Regions from separate parts of the Homo sapiens genome. Here region 2 is linked to region 1. Evidence: promoter capture Hi-C in human tissues and cell types (Jung and others, 2019). All regions are on one chromosome and are shown on one strand. The core of a region is centred on a gene start or on the middle of the fragment in contact, and the rest is flanking DNA. Distances in the headings are between cores, read along the strand shown. Region 1 holds the start of FUBP3 (far upstream element binding protein 3). Region 2 overlaps ABL1 (ABL proto-oncogene 1, non-receptor tyrosine kinase).

Evidence for each region. The method cuts DNA at HindIII sites, captures the fragments that hold promoters and counts their contacts. A contact is called where the count stands out against the background at its distance.
Region 2: a contact is called between a fragment that was not itself captured here and the fragment with the promoter of FUBP3 in region 1, in 4 of the 25 tissues and cell types used here (IMR-90 fibroblasts, aorta, lymphoblastoid cells and 1 more).

The regions. Positions count from the first base shown.
Region 1 is chr9:130,578,143-130,580,842 of GRCh38, reverse strand. FUBP3 (far upstream element binding protein 3) reads right to left here and starts at 1,266. Exons shown (of 19, transcript NM_003934.2): 1 at 1,079-1,266. The coding sequence starts at 1,162. It overlaps LOC100272217 (a long non-coding RNA gene), which reads left to right and starts at 1,349. Exons shown (of 1, transcript NR_027440.1): 1 at 1,349-2,700. It overlaps LOC124902286 (a long non-coding RNA gene), which reads right to left and starts at 1,003. Exons shown (of 2, transcript XR_007061818.1): 1 at 595-1,003; 2 at 1-184. RefSeq lists a silencer at 949-1,318. The HindIII fragment of the contact is 10,079 bases long and covers 1-2,700 here.
Region 2 is chr9:130,862,738-130,865,525 of GRCh38, reverse strand. ABL1 (ABL proto-oncogene 1, non-receptor tyrosine kinase) reads right to left here. Exons shown (of 11, transcript NM_005157.6): 4 at 2,491-2,763. Among named protein-coding and RNA genes, the nearest start is that of ABL1, 29 kb to the right of the region's middle. RefSeq lists enhancers at 2,038-2,538, 2,539-2,788. The HindIII fragment of the contact is 6,876 bases long and covers 1-2,788 here.

The DNA of each region.
Region 1 (2,700 bases), core at 17-2,516:
AGGTTTGGAAAGTTCTGGGATCCAATATAATGTCTATAGGAGCATCAATATATAACATGAAAAGTCAGTTATCAGGGAAACAGGTAGGGTTCCCTCCCCTGGAATACTGGAAAGAGATGTAAAGACCATATCTTCAAGCGCCCGAGTGAAGACCTTCTTCTAATACAATGACTCCTGTGGCTTTCTGTTAGGAATCAAGCAGTAATTAGTTATAGCCCAACTTTTAAAGTATCAGTGCGCTTACAATTACATAAGAAGAGAGGAGGACATAAGACACTTAACCGAGGAAGCTGAAGTGTTAGGGCTGACTTGTAAGTAAGTTTTAGATACAAATGAAGAACACGTTCTGTTCTAAGTACCATGCCAGAAGCCAGTAAGTATTTTTGGCAGGTCCCATATTCACTCTCTGGGGAAGCCTGGAGCCTTCTAAAACCCAGTTAATTTAACTTTGATTAAATGCACGACATTGTCAGACAGTAAAGTTTCAATGTCGGAATGAGGCCATATCATTCTCCCCAGTAGAGGCAAGCTTGCCATGAGAAATTTCTACATCTTGGGGACCACCCCCACACATGTAACACCTCCCTCTCTCACCTCTCCAAAGAGCACCCTCACATATAAGATGCCCTCGAGTTCCTTCTACTCAACAGAAAGTCTAAAGACGATGTTCCCCAAGTTTTAACAAGCTACTGGGCGTCAGACAGCTGCTTTATGTCTACACCCAGATCCTCCCCGTGGGCTTCCCGGACCCCTCCCCTCGCGAGGTTCAGAACCCCGCGCTAGCTACACTGTGGGTCCAGGCTGGCCGCTGGGGCACGATGGGGCCAGACGCTCTAAGCAAACCCTTTCCCAGCGACTTCAGGCACCTGGGAGACCCGCCCGACAGGCCGGGCCTGGGCCTCGCAGTGGCGCCTTATCCCCCCGGCTCCTCCCGGCTGTAGGAACTCCACGGAACGGCCCGGCCCGGCTGAGACGTCGGTTCAGGCTGCCTCCCGCCCCCCAGGCCCGAACCCCTCTTCCCCGCCCGCCAGGCCCCGCCTCGGGATCTCGTGCTCCTGCCAGCCGGCTGCGCCCGTACCTGCCGGACCCGGTGCAGGGCATCCACGAAGCCCTCGGCCTTCATCCCCACAGGAGCGCTCTGCCCCTGCACCAGCTCCGCCATTACCGCCCCCGCCGCCGTCGCCGCCGCCGCCGACGCCGCCGACGCCGCCGCTCGGCTCCCCGGTCCGGCCTCCCGCTCCGCTTGGGGACCCGTAGCCGGAAAAGGAAAGTCGCCCTACTTCCGGCGGAAGGGAAAGCCGGGACGCTCGCAGCTGGAGGAGTCGCGTCTGCGGGGCGGGGTCAGGGCACGTGACCTTCGACCGATCGGAAGTGGGGGCGGGACGGCAGCGCCGGGGTGGGCTCAGATCGCCAGGCAGCCGTGGGTCTCCAGGGTCCGGTCGCGACCCTTCCCTTCCCGGGCGGGATTTGGTCCAGGACCGTCGATGGCGTCTTGACAGGTCCCCGAGGCTTGGATGTGGTCCCGAGGTGTCCGCTGTCGGCCGTTTGGAATCTCAGAGGGACTGACGTGGCTCTCCCAAGACGGCACCCCGAACAGTCGTGGTTCATCAAAAGCCTGGTCCTGGGTAGCCCCTCCCTGAAATGGCTGTTGGTTGGGAATTTGGGGGCTGAGCGCTTTGAAAGGGCATTGGGACAGCATCACAGAATGTCAGTGTCCCACATTTGCGAGGAGTCCCGGGCCCCAGTTCTTACACTGCAGTTTGCATGAGGATGGGCCACCGCCACTTCCGCCTGGGGTTGTCTGGTGATGCCCCCAGGAGAGACGCGCCCACTGAAAAGCCAGCGTGGTGTCCTCTTACACGGTCCTTAACAAACTCTGGGACTCTGGGGGTGCAGGAAATACCACAGGACCGTCATTACTCCCATACCGGCTGAGTCACAACTGTATTGCAGGAGGCTTCTTGGAACGCCTATGTAACTTTAATGGAAGTGACCAGGTACAGATCTTCTACAGCAAGGAAGGAATCTTAGTGCTAGAATTCAGTTGAGCCTTTGAGTTGGCTCTTCTTATAAGTGAGCAAACAAGTAACAAGGTTTAGGGGGCGCCCATTTTTGTGTTAGCACGATTGCCCTCGTGTTTAATATTTCCCAAGCCCTATTATGATAAGGAGTTGGACTTAATGAAGAACCATGTTGTCAAACATCTTATGCCCATCTTGAAGTTGTGAAGGAGGATGAGCACCAAGAAAAGGAAATAAATAAAATCCAATACGGGCCGGGTGCGGTAGCTCACGCCTGTAATCTTAGCAGTTTGGGAGGCCAAGGCAGGCAGAACTCTTGAGCCCAGAAATTCAAGACCAGCCTAGGCAGCATAGTGAGACCCCGTCTCTACAAAAAATATAATTAGCTGGGCGTGGTGGCAAACACCTGTAGTCCCAGCTACTTGGGAGGCTGGAGTGGGAGGATCACCTGAGCCCTGGAGGTCAAGGCTGCAGTGAGCTATGATCACGCCACTGCAGTACAGCGTGGGTGACAGAGCAAGACCCTTTCTTGGGGAAAAAAGTCCCATATAACTTTCCTTGATGACCCCACCCTCACCCCTCACTGTGTCATTATGCCAAGAGAGCTTTGGGCATTCTAAAGAAGTATGAGGAATACTTGACCAATAACCAAAGTATAGTTATTTATTTGTTAATGACT
Region 2 (2,788 bases), core at 31-2,530, 280 kb before region 1:
ATCCACCAGCCTTGGCCTTCCAAAGTGCTGGGATTACAGGCGTAAGCCACCGTGCCTGGCAATTTCAGCTTCTATAGCAAAGGTAAATGCCCCATATTTACACTAATCTTATTTGACAAATAGGCAACATACTGCAGGGATGTTTCTGCGCACGGCCAGGAGGAAGGAGGGCTAATTTATTTAGCAGTTGCTTAGTACCGTATTTTCAGTTAACACACTTCCAGAAAGGGACATACTGCCTTTTCCCTAATTAGATACCACTCCGGGTGACTGCCCACAGAAATCCACGCAATGACATCCTGTAATTCTTTACCAACTGTGAGATCGTAAGTTAATTAGGCTCTTGGGAAAAATTATTAGAAGTATAATTAAAAGCAGAGTAACACATTATTAGTAAAGCACATTCTGAAAGGCACCCACTTTAGATTCAGTGATATAAGAAACCCACCCCACAAACCACACAGGTCTCCAGCAGGTACCCTTCTCTGGAGTCTCCTCCTTCAGTTGTTCAGAAAACAATGCCACAGCACCATCTACTGAAGTAGCGTTTCCTCAAATGTCAAGTTGTACAACCCGATCTTGGAAGTTTTCAGACAAGCTTTTACTGGTTGAAATCTAGGGTATTTTGCGCTTGGAATCTTCCTTCATTTGACAAATCCTGGTGAAAGTGTGCTGAAATCTAGGCCATTCTCAGTTTGCTGAGCTGGTCAAGGCCCCATTTCTTGGGTCTGGTCTTCAACCCTGTGCAACCCAAGGAGCTGGGGCACCTGCACAGCTCCCCCGTCCCTCCTTCGTTCACCCCCTGGTGGTGTCCCGAGGACTGCTGCGCTGCAATCCTTCTTCCTCCTACTACCTGGACCACCCTATGTCTCAGATGAAGAACTCTGTCCCATTCATTTTCTAATCCAGTGTTGAGCCCAGGAACCGTCAAATAGAAGTGAAGAACTTGATAAATATTTATTCAATTAAGAAAAAGTCCAGGGCCGGGTGTGGTGGCTCATGCCTATAATCCCAGCACTCTGGGAGGCTGAGGTAGGCAGATCACTTGAGGTCAGGAGTTTGAGACCAGCCAGGCCAACACAGCGAAACCCCATCTCTACTAAAAATACAAAAATTAGCTGGGTGTGGTGGCGGGTGCCTGTAATCCCAGCTACTCGTGAGGCTGAGGAAGGAGAATCGCCAATTTGGGGAGGCGGAGGTTGCAGTGAGCTGAGATCATGCCACTGCACTCCAGCCTAGGCAACAGAGTAAGACTCCGTCTCAAAAAAAGAAAAGAAAAAGTCCTATCTGAGAAATATCCAGGGTCCTTAAGGTAACCCCAAACCATGCCCCCACCCCAGTGCCAGTCCTGCCTCAAAGACAGGCACGTGCTGAATAAGAGCATCAGGAAGCCACCTTTGGTTTCTAGGACTAAAGAATGTGATCTTTTCTCTAAAGCAGCCACTTCATACCAGTCAGAAATCATACTTCCCATTTCACTATGCCTTTGGGTGAAGGCATCAGGTCAGTCAAGGAGTCCCTAAAAGGCAGGCATGTGGCTGCACCAGTCTCAATGTGTGCACCTGACTTCTGAGACACATGCACAAACTAAACTCTATTTTTCCCAGAGGTGGATGTTTCAGTTCTTTTCTAACAGCTCTAAAAAGGGGCTGCCTCTCTTGATTTCTGTGCACAGGTCAAGGTAATCAAAGTTCATTTAAAACAAGTGGAAATAATGTAAGTCAACACTAGGGGACACCCTCGCCACAGGGAAAAGCCTGGATCACATTTTGAAGAATGCAAAGGGCTGAAAATGAAAACTTCCTTCCCTTGGCGTCCTAAGGGTTTCAAAGAACTTCAAAAGAAGAAAAAAACCTGCCTGGAAACTACAAACACTATTCATTAGTGGAGAGGGTAAAGTCCCAGTTAACAAGAAAGACCAGACTGTATCTGAGTTGGTCAAAAGCGAGTTTCCTGGATGCCTTTCTAGCGGGGACACTTCCACCTCTGCCTGCAGGAGTCTGGGCAGCTGCAGAATTGGAACCCACTGGGGATGCCCAGGGCACCTGCCTTCCAAATCAGCCAACAAAAATCCACAGAAGAGTCAAATGCATTTTGGTTAAATCTTCTTTCAAAACTCAGAGATCTTTTTTTCCTCCTTAACTCTCGGTAGGAAGTGATCTCCATGCCGCACGAACAGCATGGAAATCCACGGCTTTAAAAGAACCTTGCCATAAAATGAGAAAACCTCTCCAAATGACTAATCTTTTTACACCAAAACCCCTCCATGCTTGTCAGCTCTCACCATATGTGGAAACACACTCGGACTATGAGAATGATTCCACTCCTACAAAGACACAGGAATGATATAAGACGGAAAAGTCAATTCCGTGGCGCCAATGAAGCCCTCGGACAGCAGGCAGGAGGTAGACTTCCAGGCAGATGCATCGCCTAATGCCAGCAGACGCCTTGCCCCACGTACCCTGGGCACCCCCGGCAGTCCCAGCCTACCTTCAAGGTCTTCACGGCCACCGTCAGGCTGTATTTCTTCCACACGCCCTCGTACACCTCCCCGTACTGGCCCCCGCCCAGCTTGTGCTTCATGGTGATGTCCGTGCGTTCCATCTCCCACTTGTCGTAGTTGGGGGACACACCATAGACAGTGGGCTTGTTGCGCTTTGGGGCTGGATAATGGAGCGTGGTGATGAGCCCGTCGGCCACCGTTGAATGATGATGAACCAACTCGGCCAGGGTGTTGAAGCGGCTCTCGGAGGAGACGTAGAGCTGAAGGAAACAGGGAACAGCCTTC